4 separate regions of the Homo sapiens genome follow, and all the other regions are linked to region 3. Evidence: promoter capture Hi-C in human tissues and cell types (Jung and others, 2019). All regions are on one chromosome and are shown on one strand. Each heading gives the region's core, a stretch centred on a gene start or on the middle of the fragment in contact. The rest is flanking DNA. Distances are from core to core; before and after follow the strand shown.

What was found. Contacts are between HindIII fragments. The study calls those that stand out against the background at their distance.
Region 1: a fragment that was not itself captured here is called in contact with the fragment with the promoter of PLXDC2 in region 3 in 1 of the 25 tissues and cell types used here (H1 embryonic stem cells).
Region 2: a fragment that was not itself captured here is called in contact with the fragment with the promoter of PLXDC2 in region 3 in 2 of the 25 tissues and cell types used here (H1 embryonic stem cells and dorsolateral prefrontal cortex).
Region 4: a contact is called between a fragment that was not itself captured here and the fragment with the promoter of PLXDC2 in region 3, in 1 of the 25 tissues and cell types used here (dorsolateral prefrontal cortex).

What each region holds. Positions count from the first base shown.
Region 1 is chr10:20,596,102-20,600,559 of GRCh38, reverse strand. LOC105376442 (a long non-coding RNA gene) reads right to left here and starts at 3,550. Exons shown (of 4, transcript XR_007062080.1): 1 at 3,250-3,550. RefSeq lists an enhancer at 3,007-3,507. The HindIII fragment of the contact is 3,153 bases long and covers 393-3,545 here.
Region 2 is chr10:20,578,860-20,582,981 of GRCh38, reverse strand. No RefSeq gene overlaps it. Among named protein-coding and RNA genes, the nearest start is that of MIR4675, 29 kb to the right of the region's middle. The HindIII fragment of the contact is 5,080 bases long and covers 1-4,122 here.
Region 3 is chr10:19,813,218-19,817,829 of GRCh38, reverse strand. It overlaps PLXDC2 (plexin domain containing 2), which reads right to left and starts at 1,398. Exons shown (of 14, transcript NM_032812.9): 1 at 639-1,398. The coding sequence starts at 750. It overlaps LOC124902388 (a long non-coding RNA gene), which reads left to right and starts at 1,602. Exons shown (of 2, transcript XR_007062078.1): 1 at 1,602-3,428. RefSeq lists an enhancer at 1,709-2,474. The HindIII fragment of the contact is 14,250 bases long and covers 1-4,612 here.
Region 4 is chr10:20,749,693-20,754,304 of GRCh38, reverse strand. No RefSeq gene overlaps it. Among named protein-coding and RNA genes, the nearest start is that of NEBL, 150 kb to the left of the region's middle. The HindIII fragment of the contact is 5,109 bases long and covers 1-4,432 here.

The DNA.
Region 1 (4,458 bases), core at 720-3,219, 780 kb before region 3:
CAAGCTTGGGTCATTTGGGAAACTCTTTGTGTGCTCTGAATTATGGATCTGCCTTTCCATTATATTTAGGCCTACATATCTTATAAAAACCTAACTCGTGTCCTGAATACAACTGTGGCAAGTGATTGGAACTTATGCCTCCCTGTAGAGAAGGAAACTTGAACTTGCTTTAGGAAGAGACCCACTCTTCTTCAAGAGAACTTAGTAAAAGGAAACCAGAATTTGATATGTAACTTAACCTTGCCTTAATGATGGCATTGCCCCTTTTTCTGTCTTCTATTCAGTATTTCTGTGAATTTAGCATGATGAAAATTTTAATGAGTATTGTACCTCATCTTTCTTGCTGTTCTTCAAACTTGAGTATAAACACTAGTCATATTTAGTCCATTTTGTGTTTAAGAAAATTCTTGAGTACTCTATGTAACAGAATACTTGAGACTGGGTAATTTGTAAGCAATGTAACTTTATTTGTCTTATGATTCTAGAGAATCCAAAATCTTGGAATCTTGGAATCTTGAATTTCAAGACCATGGTGACAACACCTGGTGAGGGCATTCCTGCTGTGTCATCCAAGGCAGAAGGTGGAAGGGCAAGACAGTATGAGAGTAAGAGAGAGCAAGAAGGGGCAAAACTTACTTTTATAACAACCCACTCTTGTAATAACAAATCCACTCCCTCAATAATGACATTAATCCATTAATGAGGGCAGAGTCCTCATGACCTAATCAATTACCTCTTATTAGGCCCTGCCTCCCAACACTGTTGCATGGGGAATTAAGCTTCCAACACATGAACTTTGTGGGACATATTCCCACCATGGCAATCACCTATCACCTTCTCACTTGTTAGACATAATTTTTGAAATTCTATTTCAGTAAGATTGAAAGGGAAGCTGGCAATTTTTCCATCCATAGAGTGAGAATCTGATTACTATTGGACCAGCTGGATAGTTGTTTCTCTGTAAGGGATACTAAAATACCTCCCCGGTAATGAAACATCACTGAAAATGTGATGAGAGGGATAACGTTTGTAAGGAATACTTTGATAAACTACATCAAAAGGAAAATGGAGAAATGAACAGGTAAAGCATGCTAGGTTTTTAGGACAGTGAAATTATTTTGTATGATACTATAATGATGAATGTATGACATTAAGCATTTTTCAAAACCTATAGAGTTGTGCAACAAAGAGTTGATTCTAATTTAAACTATGGCCTTTAGTTAATTATGTATCAATATTGATTCATCATTTGTAACAAATGTACCAGACTAGTGCAAGATACTAATAAGGGAAACTATACTGGAGTAGGCGAGGGGGTATATTACTCTATACATTCTGCTCAATATTTCTATAAACCTAAACAGCTCTAAAAGTGAAGTCTATTCTTTATAGTCTACAGTTTAAAGTCTATGTAAAAGAGGAAATAAGAGGGGTATGCCTTGGTCACAGTAGAGTCATGTTTTAGTAACAATATATGGCCCTTATTCCTAAAGTACCTTCTCAGGAGGATGGGAATATAGTTGGAAAGCTTCAGTTTTGCTGGGTGAGGTTTTAAGCGTGTTACCAGAGCTAAATTGCTCTGAGCAATAGAAGAGAATGTCCTGTCTCTTACCATGTATTAAAGAACATTGATTTGAAGGGGCACCAAATGCTACACCCAAGTGGCCACATGTTTTGGTCTCGGTAGCTCCTGTGCTCTGAGTCAGATTTGGAAGTGAATTCTGGCTTATTATCCTGGCTCATGACTCAGCTCTCCAAGGCTCTCCCCGGTGCAAGAGCCTGGTGGGATCTCAGCCCTGTGAGTCATCCTTGCTGCCCAGACGACAGCTGCTACCAGGCTAGGACACAGAGGCTGGGGGGCCTCCTCCCTACCCTACCCTTGCAGGATGCACTGGAGAGCCACCTTAGAATGATTCCACCATGGACCTATATTTTGACATGGTTTTTAAGAATTAATGTCCCATAAAGTGTTTCTGTATATTTTGTCAGTGAAAGAGAGACATACAGGTTCACATCATAACATGAATCCAAGATTATCTATATTTAATATTTATTCCCTAATCAGGATGAAAAGTTTCATTCCATCTTGGAGTAAATTGAAGACATAGCTGGTTCTTTATTCATTTTTCACAGATTTCCTGCGTAGCTCAAAGCACTTCACGAATATAAAATTACTCAGTAAGTGGCACGAAAGCCACCTTATAAAGTAGGGATATGTTTGAGTAGAAGAATTATTTGCCTACATATCTGTATTTTTTAAAAAGCCTAAGACAAAATAGTAATGTTAAATTCAGGAGGGGCTATTTAGTTTTATAATGTCATAGAAAATAGCCTGGACAGAAATTTCATGATTGTTTCCCATTTCAAAAGTTTTGAATTTTTTATTTTCATCTATGTTTTAAATAATATTAGCTCATAATTTATAATGGACTTATTAATGGTAATATGGTAGTTTTCCTCTTCTACCTGACTTAAAGGGAGACTCAGCAACACACACACGGACACACACAGACACACACACACACGGTGGGGGGAAGAGAGAGAGATAGAGAACAGAACGCAGAGAAAGCAGGCATATTTAAATCTAAAAAACAGTTAAGAAACTAAAGTCAAATTTGGGAAAGCATTATTTAAGGAGGGATTATAGACTAGAAAATGTTCAAATGAAGGGTAAAGATCATATAGCTTAACTTTTTAATTGTAAATGTTCATCGAAAATCACAAAGTTAAAGGCAGTGCAAGATTGTGAATTCTCCATATGTTAATTACTTTTCCTGCTACACACCGGAAGTAACAAAAGGGATCTCCCTGCCTTTCCAGTCACCCTAGAAGGCCCTCCCATCAGACTTTTGTCCCGTGCACTGCTCTGAAGGCCTCTTGTTAATGTCCCAAAGACTTTTCTGTTACCAGAATCAATATCGTTGTCATCTTGCCTACCTATTTCGGTACTTGTTCAGTTGATCACTCTTCTTTTTTAACACTTAATTTCTTGAACTTTTAGCATATCCCTATCACTGACCTGTTTTTCAGTCTCCTTAGCTCATTCATGCTCATCTTTAGGTGTCTAAAGGCTGGCATGCCTTGGGGCTCAAGCATTTTACCTCTCCTTCACCCCTCTCACCTTCTCACCTGAAAATTACTTGCTGACTATAATCCTCTTTTGGAGAAAACACCCATTAAGGTGTTTGGAACTTAACATGTCAGAACTGAACTTTTAATTCCCTCTGCTCCTTAAATTTGTTCTCTTACCATAAATGACAGCTCTTTTCTTCCAGTGACTTGAACTGAAATCTTGGTCCTCTGACTGAAATAAAAACCTCAGGGAGCTTGTAAAAGGCAAAACTGTGTTGTTGCTTAATGCATCTCTCACTGTTAATTCTCTAGCATTGTCATGAAGGTTTCAACCCTCTTTCTTGTCTATTTCTGGATTGAATGGTGTTTCCCATAGAACTGGAGCACAGGCCTGGAATGTGGATGGAATTTGGATGGTTGCTAAGTTACTTGGTACATTCTATCCCCTGCTTGCTCTTGACAGTGAAGACTTGAATGTGAGATCTTCAATAGGAAAACAAACCCTGTCGAGGCTTCTTTATGAAAAATCAGATCGTGAATCAAAAGTACAAATCAGAAAAAAAACTTTAACATCCATCCTTTTTGCTTCTGGAAAATAAATGTCTCAGTATAATGAATAGAATTGAAAGATAAAAAAATGAAGGTTTTCAGAATCTTAGTATCAACACACACAGTTTTGGCTATAGACTGAGCCTCCACAAAAGTATCACACTGAACATAGGCCCTGAAGTATGGCAGATTTCATTTAGATAAAAATGCACGAAAAAGAAAGGAGCTGCTATTTTAATTCCATGATTTTTTGATACTGTCATTTACCATTCAAAAAGAAAAAAAGAGAATAATGGTGTTACATTGAGAGTGTTTAGACAAGTGTTTTTTACTTTACAAGGAATGAAAGCAGGGTGCTTGGCTATCAGACTGCATTGTTGTGAGATATTTCCCTGGTCAGCTATGACTCACTGAACTCTTCATACAAATGATTGCTAAGGATGAGAGTTATTAAAAGTTCCTCATCAAATGTATTGTTTTCAAGGGGTTTATGGGACCAGGCCTCCTCATTCCTAGATCCTGATATCATTAGATTGAACCTTTGGGGTATATATATGTTTTTTTCTTAATGTTGGATAACCTTGGATTTATCAGTCAAATGTATCTTTTCTTTAGACACTGCCTCATAATGACATAGAGAAATACAAAAGGGAAGAATAGCTTTAACAGGTTAACCACAAACATGAAAGTGCATAAAAATGTTGTTTATAGAAATATCAACTGCCTTAAATGATGTAGCTAAAAGATACCACATAAGATCCAGTTATTTCAGCTTGCTATACAGTTTATGCCTATTGATAAAGCTAATTAACAAAAGTGACAGGCAAAAGTAATGTA
Region 2 (4,122 bases), core at 444-2,943, 760 kb before region 3:
TATTGGGTAATTATAGGATATGGATAAATAAAAGAAGTAGCAGCAATGTTATAAGAAACAGGAAAGAGGAAGTAGGAATTCTTTGTTATAAGTTGCTTGCATTACCTGTGGGGTGGTATAGTGTTATTCAAAAGGGGACTTAAATTAATTGTAAATATATACTGCAAGCTCTAGGGAAACCACTGAAAAAGTAAAAAATATATATATATATAAATGATATTTTAAGAGAAGAGAGAAAATGGAATCATGTAAAGTGCTCAGTTAAAAGCAGAGAAAGTAGGAGGAGGGGGGGATATGGTGACACAGGATATTTCCTTGACCCCTTTGCGAGACTCACGACAGGGGTGCCTCATTTACTCAGCCCACCACTCTCAACTCCTTGATGGATGGAACGCAGGAGCAAATGAGTGCAGGAACTGGAGTGAACAAGCACTGGAACTAGCCAGTCGCTTTGGCACTGGCATGATCAAACTCCACTCACTCGGACCTGTTACTTTCCACCTGTTGTGGGAGGGAGCACACAGGTGAGTGGGTGCGGGCATCAGAGTGGCCACTTTTGGGCTCTAGCAGGAGCAAACCCTATGCAGGCCCCACAGCAGCATTCAGATGGGGCTGCCTGCAACCCCCAAAGCCCCAGAGAATATGTTACAGTGCTCTTTTAGCTCTGCCATCCATGGATTGCTTAAGTGTTAACAGCTCAGTGGGCCCTTTGCCTTTTTGCATGAGGTGGCTGCCCTCCACCAGCAAGGGCAGAGGGCCAGTGTGACAGCCTTTTGTATCCACACTAGTGGCTCCCAAGCTCTTGTCTAGCATCCAGGAAAAATGAGGTCACATGAATGAATTGAAGGATGGCAAATGTGGGAAATTTTATTGCCAACGAAAGAGGGTCACAGTGGGAAGGGGAGCTGAAAAGGGGACTGGGCAGGTAGGAAATCTTTCCCTGAAGTCTGGCCATCACCAGCCAGATTCTTCTCTGGAGTTAGGCCGTCAAGCTGTCCTTCTGAAGTCAAACCACTTCTCTTCGACATCCAGCTGTAGTCCCATCTACCGGGTGAGCCTGGGGTTTTTATAGGCACAGGATGGGGCAGAGCAGGGCCATGTGTGGTTTAGGAAAAGGCAACATTGAGCAGGAAAACAGGTATAGAAGTTATCACTTTGGGCTGTGGTTTCAAGCTTTTCAGCTTGAGGGTGGGGTTTTGCCAGGGACCCTCCCTTTTCTGCATAGAATTTCTCTGTCCCCTGTCCCTATCAAAAGGAAGCATAAGTTGGGGTTTTCTTTGTTCCTGACTTGTGTGCCAATTTCTTGAACAATATTCTGAACTCTTTCTGCCCACAATGACCTGGTTGAAGTGCTTTAATTCTTTAAAAACAATTAATGTGTTTGTTGTAATGTGTAAATTGTGTTTGTTGAAAGTAGGCATTTGCATTAGTCCATTCTTGCACTGCTATAAAAGAGCTACTTGAGACTAGGTAATTTATAAAAAGAAAAAGAGGTTTAATTGACTCACGGTTCTGCAGGCTGTAAAGGAAGCATGGCTGGGGAGACCTCAGGAAACTTATACAATCATGGCGGAAGTGGAAGGGGAAGCAGGCACGTCTTACATGGCCAGAGCATGAGAAAGAGAGAGTGAAGGGGGATGTGCTACACACTTTTAAACAGCCATAACTCATGAGAACTCACTCACTGTTCTCACTTGCTGTTCAAGAGAACTCACTCACTCACTTGCTGTTCAAGAGAACAGCAAGGGGGAAGTCTGCAGTCAAGATCCAGTCACCTCCCACCAGGCCCCTCCTCCAACACTGAGGATTGCAATTCAACATGAGATTGGGGTGGGAACACAAGTCCAAACCATATTAGCATTTAAATACATACCTTAAGATAGACTTTCAGTACAATTGACTTGTGAGCAAGACAGGTTTGAACTGCATGGGTCCACTTACATGTGACTTTTCTTCTGCGTCTGCCACCCCTGAAACAGCAAGACCAAGACCAACACCTCCTCTTCCTCCTCCTCCTCCTCCTCAGTCTACTCAACATGAAGACAGTAGGGTGAAGACCTTTGATAATCCACTTCCACTTAATTAATAGTAAACATACTTTTTTAAAATGATTTTCTTAACATTTTCTTTTTTCTAGCTTGCTTTATTGTAAGAATGTAGTATATCATATATATATCATACAAGATATATGTTAATCAACTGTTTATGTTATGGTAAAGTTTCTGGTCAACAGTAGCTAAATAATAGTTAAGTTTTGGGAAGTCAAAACATATACACAAGTTTTCGATTGTGTTGGGGATCTGCACCCCTAAACCCTGTGTTGTTGAAGGGTTAACTGTACTTTAAAAAGTTATACCAGCCACTAATTTTTGGAGAGTCACTTGCTCTTGGAAAATCATGTTAAAGCTTTGAGTTCACTCCCTAGTAAAATGCATAAATATCCAGCCTTATAAAATGTGTTATGTGATTTCAAGAAGCCCACACATCTCCTGCATCCACCCCTGAATCCTCCAGAGAACCATGAGCCCCATGTTATGAAAGCTTGCACTGTATTTTGTGCTTTTAAATAAAAATGTACATATGTATTCTCTCATGAGACTGGAAATGGGGAAGAACATATAGAGGGTCTGTCTCTTGAGAGGTTTCTGCTCGGTAAGATTCAAGCCTTCTACCTTTGGTGGCACAAGTCAGTTGTAATCCACTCACAGAGACGCAGGCAGGCTTCTGCCAGATAGTCATCAGTCCAATGGAAAGTTATTTTTTGTTCAACTAGAAACAGTTCTGTTGCCAAAGCATTCAATTTCAAGACAGGAAGAAATCATCCATTTCACTGGTCTCCAAACTTTTAAAAATCACACCCCATCAGTAAAACATTTTGATCAAATTTTGCCAATAAGTATATATTTATCTACAATTTATACCCAGTCTGGGTGTGGTGGCTCATACCTGTAATTTCAGCACTTTGGGAGGCCAAGGCAGGAGGATGGCTTTGAGGTCAGGAGTTCAAGACCAGCCTGGCCAACATGGCAAAATCCTGTCTCTACAAGAAATACAAAAACTAGCCGGGTGTGGTGGCATGTGCCTGTAGTCCCAGCTACTCAGGAGGCTGAGGTGTGAGGATCGCTTGAGTCCAGGAGGTCAAGACTGCAGTGAGCCATGATCACACTACTGCACTCCAGTTTGGGTGACAGAGCAAGACCATGCCTCAAAAAATAAATAAAATAAAACTGATACCCATGTGCTCCTGTCGTTTTGTGCAAAATTAGAAAAGCACGATTTCAATCTTATTTTTAGGTTTAAAAATAGGTATCAATAGAAGTTTTAATATTTTCTCCACCCAGCTTAGTGGATTGTCTTGTGCACTCCCTAAGGTGCATGGATTCCTTTCTGGCAACCACTGCGCTAGGTGGAAATGGGAGCTGGGTAGATGTAGGTGCATTAATAAAACAGAGCCCTTGTGCTATGAAGGTGCCCTACAAGGTATCTATCGTATCCAAGGGAGAAACTAAGTGAAAGTATCACAGCTCATTTTTCACTTAATTTCCAAAGAAAGCCAACTATTACTACAGATTTATTTCATTAAGTACATTGCTTAGCAAGTCCATTAGCACTTAGTATGTACCAGGCACTGTTTTAGTAGCTTTACAAATACTGGCTCATTGAACGCTTTTAATAACCTTATAAAGTAAATGCTATCATTTTCCTAATAACATAATAGCATACGAACAATTTTCAATGGTGTTCTCAAGTTTGTTGAGTCAATGCCATGCTTCTTGGGGCTTGAACATTTGCCTAGAGAAGTGGAGATGGAAGCAGAATGGCTGCTGGTTGGTGACAGTAGCTGGGTGCAGGGGTATCAGGAGGCCAACCCGCCTGAGGGCTGGTTTCCTGCACCTTTGTGGCTGTCAGTTGCATCATGGGGTACAATCATATGCTAGCACCCAGGGACCAGGCGTAGTCCACGTCAGCAACCTTTGCAGTTGCTTTTTGTTGACTACCAAGGCAGCAACAGCTCCAATTTCCCGGAAGGAATCTGTGCTAAGGTTATTCTTCACCTTGAAGTGTTTAAGTGTGATTTTTTTTTTTTTTTTTTTTTTTGAGATGGAGTCTAGCTCTGTCACC
Region 3 (4,612 bases), core at 149-2,648:
GCGGAGGACAATGGGAGCAGGGGTAGGTCTCCAGAGGCGAGCCCGCCTCCACCTTTCCCACCTGCTCCCCACCTCTGCGCCGGCCGCATTTACCCCGCCCCCCTTCCAGCGCCCGCTTGGCCCAGGTCACTAGACGGAGCTAGTGGGGATCGCCAGGGGAAGGAAGGTGCTGCCACAGGGAATTTTCTCGTGCAGAGGGGAGACCTGCAATCCCTGGCTTTCACAACGTCCCCCACCCACCCCATACCACACACGCTTAGTTTAACCAGCAGCGAGGAAGGAGGAGGAGCCGGAGAGCACACAGCCTGGAGATGCCAGGTCCTAGGAGATGTATCCACGGAAGAAGCTTTGCTCTCACACTGAAGCCCTCCCTGGGCTACTTTGGGGAGACAGTACCACCCCCTGCCGCCCAGGTGAAGTAAGCCCGAAAGCCTCAAGAAAACCCCTAGTCCCCGGCGTCCTTCTCTTGATAACCCTCTTTCCCCATTTGGGAAGCCTAAGTTTAGCCGAAAAGCAACTGCAATAAGTTTCCCAAGGGCAGATAGGTGATGTTGGGGGGAGAGGGTAGGGAGCACGAGAGTGCCAGAGAGGTCTTCAGCTGCGCACAAAATCAGCAAGCTAAAGTGCATCTTACTTACCAAGGATTTGGTCTCCGGGTTTCCCATCGGCGAACTGAAACTGGTCCGTGAAGAAGTGGCAAAGTAACATAACTCCTGCAGCGGCCAGGTCGGCCTTCGGGAACCTCGCCATGCCGCCGCCGCCACCTCCCTACCCCACCCGCCAGTCCTTCGCCGGTGCTCGGGGGCTCCCGATGCAATAGGCACGACCGGGCCAAACGCTGCGGATCGGTCTCGGTAGGACCCGGAGGCCTTTGTAAATGTCGCTGCGATTTCACAGTAGGGAACCGAGAAGAGGAAGAAGCGAACGCGAGTAGGAGCGCAGCGCTCTTCGGACCTCTGAGGCTCTCTTTGCAACTTGCCACACTCGCAGCCCTCACCCGACACTGAACAACAACCGCGGGGAGGAGAGGCCACTTGCAGCCGAGGCTCGCAAACTGTCGGTTCCACTCGGGCAGCGCCAACCCGGTGCCCGCGGACGGTGACTTCCGAGCCCCAGCGATGCGCTCCACTGGGTTCAAAACAGATCTAATTCCACAGCCAGCGCCGCTGCCTGCCCCAGATCCACTAGGGCTGGTCGGCTCTGCAGGAACTTTCCTCTGTCTAGGGATGGCCCCGGCAGGAGGTTTAGGTTTGCGGGAAGGAGGTTGATGACGAAACCCTCCCGACAAGTTTTGCTTCTTTTCTTCGCCCGACGCAGGGCGCGCGTCCTTTCTCGCAGCCGGAGGAATGGGCAGCTCCAAAGAGCTGAGCCCTGGGAAGGTTAGGGCTGCAGCAGTCTGAGGTCCGAAGCCAGGAAAAAAATGTGTTTAAAAAAAAAAAAAAAAAAGAGGAAGAAGAAAGGAAAAGGGTGGAGTGGGAGGGAGTCACGCTGGAACCTATCGGGAGAGGGTTCCTCCGGGCTCAGGAGGAGGTGGCCCCAAGCCCCCGCGGAGCCCCAGGAGTTTGGTGGCGGAGGAGGCGCTGCCGTCGCCACGCTCCCCCGCGCTCCTTCTCCACACTTTGAGGAGGGAAGGCAGCTCGCAATTTGCCAGATCTGCCGCCGCACCCTCCTCCCTCCTCCCTCCGCCCTCCCCTTCGCTCCTCCAGGCTTCTCCCACCTTCCTCCCTGAAACCGGCAGCCCGCACAGACCTGTCCAATGGCTGCACTTTCCTCGGGGCTGGCTGAGGAGTCGCGGCCAACAGATTAAGCCGGGGGAGCCTAGCGAAGGGGAGGGAGAGGGCCACTCCAGCCCCGTGCGCCCCAGGCAGCCGGCTGCCCCAGAGCGCGGGGAGAGGGGACAGGCCGGGGAGCTATCGGGGGAGCGCGGGGCGGTACCTCCGCGCCGCCGGGGCGCCATCCTCGCAGCCTGCTCGCACGCCCTGGGCAGCTCCGCCAACTGCGCCCCACACCCACCTGGCTCCCGGGCCGCCTTCGCGCCCGACTGCGGGGGGCGATCGCGCCCCGCCCCGACCCTGGCGGGGTCTCCCTGGGCACGAAAGGGTTAACCACAGCTCGCCCCTTCGCGGAGGCTGGTTCTGGTAGTGGCTAGGGAGTGGAGAAAGCAAACCAGAGCCGGTTCGGTTACCGACTCTGCGAAGCCCCCTCGACCCCAGCCCAGCGCGGGAGGGTGGCGGAAGGTGGTGCACCGCAGCGTGGTCCCCGCCGCTGCCGCCGCGGCTTTGCAAAGTGTCAGCGGGGGCGAAAGCGAGAGTTTAAAGGAACAGGAGGCCCATTGAATTTCCTACCGGAGCTTTCAGGGGCTCTGGCTCCCCAGTTTGTTTTTGTTTTTTCAGCTCGGGGATCTGTTTCCGCGTTAACCCTTGCCGGCCCTCTCGTTAGTTGATATCTTATTTTGCATACAGTTAATCATTTTTGAAAGGGATAAATACAAGGAAAAGAAGCAAAGCGCTATTGGTTAAAAGTACAGGATCTAGAGCCCGGACAGCCTGGGCTGGAATTTCACCTCCCCCGCAATGAGCAGTTTATCTCCTAGCCTCAGTTATCCATCCATCAAATGGAGAGAATTAGAGTAACGCCCTTATAAGGTGGTTGCAATGGATTGGATGAGTTAACTGTATATTTAATAAATATAGAACATTGCCTACCGCAAAGTACATGGCTTTGTTTAAGTGTTTACTGAAGCAAAAGTGAGAGAAGACGACTTCAATCACATAATAAATGTGCATGTGTTCTAAGTTCAAGGTCCTTTCCACTCCAAGCTCTGAAGAGTCTATGGATGCTGTCAATAGATGTCTCGGCTTGCCACAAAACCCACTGGAAGTGGATCCGGATAATCAATCTACCTTTGCAAATGTGATGCTCAAAGGACGGCTCTCTCATGGGAAACAAGAAAGGTTTCCCTTAATCCAATACTCAATTTGCTCTTTATTTCCAAACAACAGATATACACGTATAAACACAAACATATATCATGCCTATACTCTTTATTATGCCAGGACCCTGGCTCTTTCCTGAGCTTTCCTCCCATAGGTTGATTTCTACTTAGGTAACTGGGTTTTTCTATTTCTGCTTAACTAGGAGTGTTTAAGTTCTATGTAATATTACATCCGAATTTGAGTACCCGGATATATACCTGCTTAAAATCAAGTTTGAAAACTGAGTCTTCTCATCAAAACCTGATTGTGCGGTTGACCCTTGAACAACAGGGGTTTGAACTGCGAGGATCCGCTTTTGCATGGATTTTCTTCCTCCTCTGCCACCCCTAACAGAGCAAGACTAACCCCTCCTCTTCCTCCGCTTCAGCCCACTCAATGTGAAGACGATGAGGATGAAAGCCTTTCTGATGATCCACTTCCACTTAATAAACAGTAAGTATATTTATCTTCCTTATGATTTTCTTAACATTTTCTTTTCTCTAGCTTACTTTATTTTAAGAATACAGTATGTAATATGTAGAACATACCAAATATGTGTTAATCAACTGTTTTTATATTATCAGTAATGCTTCTAATCAACAGTAGGGTATTAGCAGTTAAGTTTATGAGGAGTCGAAATTATACATTAATTTTCTACTGTGTGGGGGTCCGTCCCCCTGACCCCCATACTGTTCAAGGGTCAACTATAGTTTAATTGATGCCGATTCTTTTTGAGGATCATAAATCCATGCGGAAAGCGTCCCAAAATATTCTGCACAACTCCAGCTCCCATCATATCTAAAATAATGGGGAATCCAGCGGAAACCATTTCAAGAAAGCACCTCTTTTTTCAGACCGAGTTATTTCTCCTTCTTTCACAGTAGAAAAATAGGTGTTTCCTCCTCTGAGAACAAGCAAATCTCCACCTCTCCTTGCTATCATTTTCTTTCTTTTTTCCTTTATTATTTTATGTGCGTATTCGCAGGGTTCATTTTTCTTGTTACTTGCGGTCATCAATGCTTTGACCACCTGATTGAAACTATATACTTTTTGTAAGTAGAAATTTGATGTCAAAATTTGAAAGGGGGTAAATGGTCATTCAGGGTCAGTCAGGAAGGACTTTTATATGTTTGGTTATGTCACTGATGCTGCTGAATTGTATTGGTTTACTCCTATCTTAATTTTATTCTGAAGAGCTATACACATAGTAAATGCGGAAGTAAGGGAGAAGATACAAGTAAGCAAAACTCAATCATGCTTGATGAGATTTGCTGTTCAGAAATAAAGAAGAAAGAGCAACATTGTATAACAATAAACTCAAGCTCTGATCATTTGCCTTAAATGTTGATGAATGATTATTTTTTTAAAGTATATTCTGCCTTTACACTGTAGCAAGGAACGAATAAATAAAATGTATGTAGGACAGTATGTTCAGAGTGAAATGGAAAAAGTAGATTACTCATAATTCTGGCTAAACTAGGGTATTTTGTGGCCTAAATTATTTGGGTTTGCCATACACATTTCACCACAGTAGAAGTGTCTCTTTCCATTTTGTAGTAACAAAGTAAGTATTTGTGGAAGATGTTACATCTTCCATCTGACATGAGGGAGAGACGTAGTAACGGCTGTTTGTATTC
Region 4 (4,612 bases), core at 629-3,128, 940 kb before region 3:
AAAGAGTCCAGGACCAGATGGATTCACAGCCGAATTCTACCAGAGGTACAAGGAGGAACTGGTACCATTCCTTCTGAAACTATTCCAATCAATAGAAAAAGAGGGAATCCTCCCTAACTCATTTTATGAGGCCAGCATCATTCTGATACCAAAGCCGGGCAGAGACACAACCAAAAAAGAGAATTTTAGACCAATATCCTTGATGAACATTGATGCAAAAATCCTCAATAAAATACTGGCAAACCGAATCCAGCAGCACATCAAAAAGCTTATCCACCATGATCAAGTGGGCTTCATCCCTGGGATGCAAGGCTGGTTCAATATACGCAAATCAATAAATGTAATCCAGCATATAAACAGAGCCAAAGACAAAAACCACATGATTATCTCAATAGATGCAGAAAAAGCCTTTGACAAAATTCAACAACCCTTCATGCTAAAAACTCTCAATAAATTAGGTATTGATGGGACGTATTTCAAAATAATAAGAGCTATCTATGACAAACCCACAGCCAATATCATACTGAATGGGCAAAAACTGGAAGCATTCCCTTTGAAAACTGGCAGAAGACAGGGATGCCCTCACCGCTCCTATTCAACATAGTGTTGGAAGTTCTGGCCAGGGCAATCAGGCAGGAGAAGGAAATAAAGGGTATTCAATTAGGAAAAGAGGAAGTCAAATTGTCCCTGTTTGCAGACGACATGATTGTTTATCTAGAAAACCCCATCATCTCAGCCCAAAATCTCCTTAAGCTGATAAGCAACTTCAGCAAAGTCTCAGGATACAAAATCAATGTACAAAAATCACAAGCATTCTTATACACCAACAACAGACAAACAGAGAGCCAAATCACGAGTGAAGTCCCATTCACAATTGCTTCAAAGAGAATAAAATACCTAGGAATCCAACTTACAAGGGATGTGAAGGACCTCTTCAAGGAGAACTACAAACCACTGCTCAAGGAAATAAAAGAGGATGCAAACAAATGGAAGAACATTCCATGCTCATGGGTAGGAAGAATCAATATCGTGAAAATGGCCATACTGCCCAAGGTAATTTACAGATTCAATGCCATCCCCATCAAGCTACCAATGACTTTCTTCACAGAATTGGAAAAAACTACTTTAAAGTTCATATGGAACCAAAAAAGAGCCCGCATCGCCAAGTCAATCCTAAGCCAAAAGAACAAAGCTGGAGGCATCACACTACCTGACTTCAAACTATACTACAAGGCTACAGTAACCAAAACAGCATGGTACTGGTACCAAAACAGAGATATAGATCAATGGAACAGAACAGAGCCCTCAGAAATAATGCCACATATCTACAACTATCTGATCTTTGACAAACCTGAGAAAAACAAGCAATGGGGAAAGGACTCCCTATTTAATAAATGGTGCTGGGAAAACTGGCTAGCCATATGTAGAAAGCTGAAACTGGATCCCTTCCTTACACCTTATACAAAAATCAATTCAAGATGGATTAAAGATTTAAACGTTAGACCTAAAACCATAAAAACCCTAGAAGAAAACCTAGGCATTACCATTCAGGACATAGGCGTGGGCAAGGACTTCATGTCCAAAACGCCAAAAGCAATGGCAACAAAAGCCAAAATTGACAAATGGGATCTAATTAAACTAAAGAACTTCTGCACAGCAAAAGAAACTACCATCAGAGTGAACAGGCAACCTACAACATGGGAGAAAATTTTGCAACCTACTCATCTGACAAAGAGCTAATATCCAGAATCTACAATGAACTCAAACAAACTTACAAGAAAAAAACAAACAACCCCATCAAAAAGTGGGCGAAGGACATGAACAGACACTTCTCAAAAGAAGACATTTATGCAGCCAAAAAACACATGAAAAAATGCTCATCATCACTGGCCATCAGAGAAATGCAAATCAAAACCACTATGAGATATCATCTCACACCAGTTAGAATGGCAATCATTAAAAAGTCAGGAAACAACAGGTGCTGGAGAGGATGTGGAGAAATAGGAACACTTTTACACTGTTGGTGGGACTGTAAACTAGTTCAACCATTGTGGAAGTCAGTGTGGCGATTCCTCAGGGATCTAGAACTAGAAATACCATTTGACCCAGCCATCCCATTACTGGGTATATACCCAAATGACTATAAATCATGCTGCTATAAAGACACATGCACACGTATGTTTATTGCGGCATTATTCACGATAGCAAAGACTTGGAACCAACCCAAAAGTCCAACAATGATAGACTGGATTAAGAAAATGTGGCACATATACACCATGGAATACTATGCAGCCATAAAAAATGATGAGTTCATGTCCTTTGTAGGGACATGGATGAAATTGGAAACCATCATTCTCAGTAAACTATCGCAAGAACAAAAAACCAAACACCTCATATTCTCACTCATAGGTGGGAATTGAACAATGAGATCACATGGACACTGGAAGGGGAATATCACACTCTGGGGACTGTGGTGGGGTCGGGGGAGGGGGGAGGGATAGCATTGGGAGATATACCTAATGCTAGATGACACGTTAGTGGGTGCAGCGCACCAGCATGGCACATGTATACATATGTAACTAACCTGCACAATGTGCACATGTACCCTAAAACTTAAAGTATAATTTAAAAAAAAAATTAAAAAAAAAAATAAATAAATAAATAAATAAATACCTTGATTTCTATATGTAAAAAAAAAAAAATGTCTGTGAAGAATGCCATTGCTATTTTGGTAAAGATTGGATTAAATCTGTAGATCTCTTTGGGAAGTATAAACATTTTAAGAATATTAATTCTTTCAAACTGTCATTATGGGATATTTTTCCATTTATTTTGGTCTTCTTCAATTTTTCATTAATGTTTTATAGTTTTCATTGTAGAGATATTTTACCTTCTTGGTTAAATTTATTCCTAGGCTGGTTTTTTTGGTGGCTACTGTAAATGGTATTTTTTCTTGATTTCTTTTTCAGATAGTTTGCTATTAATATATAGAAATGCTACTGATTTTTTTTTTTTTTTTTTGAGACAAGATTTCACTTCTGTCACCCAGACTGGAGTGCAGTGGCATGATCTCAGCTCACTGCAACCTCTGCCTCCCTGGGCCCAGGTGATTCTCTTGCCTCATTCTCCCCAGTAGATGGGACTATGGTGTGTGCCACAGCACCTGGCTAATTTTTGTATGTTTTGTAGAGATGGGGTTTCATCATGTTACCCAGGCTGTTCTCATACTCCTAGCCTCAACTGATCTGCCTGCCTCAGCCTCCTAAAGTGCTGGTATTACAGGTGTGAGCCACCATGCCTTGCCAGATTTTTGTATGTTCATTTTACATCTTGTAACTTTACTGAATTTATTAGTTCAAATAGTTTTTTTGATGGAATCTTTAGAGTTTTCTGTTAATGGGATCGTATTTTCTGTGAACAGGGACAATTTAACTTCCTTCTTTCCAATTTGAATGCCTTTGATTTCTTTCTCTTGTTCTGGCTAGAACTTCCAGTATTATATTGAGTAGAAGTGGTAAAAGTGGGCAGCTTCATCTTGTTCCAGACCTTAGGAGAAAAGCTTTCAACTTTTCCCTGTTCAATATCATGTTAGCTGTGGGTTTGCCATACATTGCCTTTATTGTGTTGAAGTATGTTTCTTCTTTGAGAATATTTAGCATGAAGTGAAGTTGAATTTTCTCAAATCCTCTTCTTGCATCTATTGAAATAATTATGTGATTTTTGCCTTTCATTCTGTTAATGTGGTGTATCATATTTATTGATTTCCATATGTTGAACCATCCTTGCATTCCTGGGATGAATCCCATTTAATCATGGTGAATGATTTTTTAAAAATATGCTATTGAATTTGCTTTGCTAGTATTTTGTTGAGGATTTTTGCATTTATGTTCATCAGAGATATTGGCCTAAAATTTTCTTTTTGGTTGTTGTGTCCTTGTCTGGTTTTGATATCAGGGTAATCCTCTCCTTGTTGAATTAGTTTGGAAGAATTCTTTTGTCTTTAATTTTTTGAGAATAGTCGATAAAAATTGGTATTAGTTTTTCTTTAAGTGTTGCCTAGAATTTTCAGTAGTGAAGTCATTAGGTCCTGGGCTTTTCTTTGATAGGATATCTTTAATTACTCATTCGATCTTTTTCTTTGGTTGGATTTTCTATTTCTTCATAATTCAGTCTTTGTAGTTGCATATGTCCAGGAATTTATCCATTTCTTCCAGCTTTTCCAATTTGTTGACATATAATTGTTCATAATTGTTTCTTATGATAGATCCTTTGTATTCCTATGGTACCAGTTGCAATGGTTCCCTTTTCATCTCTGATTTTGAGTCTTCTATCTCTTTTTTAAAAGTTTCTTGATTGATTGAGTTATTCCTCTAGCCCACCAGCAAGTTTCATAAGGCTTGAGTATTCTTTACCCTCAAAGACTTTTTCTCACTGTGAGGGACACTAGTCTTAATCTGGCAAAAGTACCTGGAGCTATTCTGAATGCTCCAGATGGTCTCCAGTTAGTTAGGGTATGATTGCTTTGTCAGAACAGGAGGACTTGCAGATATACAGCCAAGTTTAGAGAAAGTATCCAGGGAAGTGGGGCCAGATACTTGGGTCCTGGTTTTGG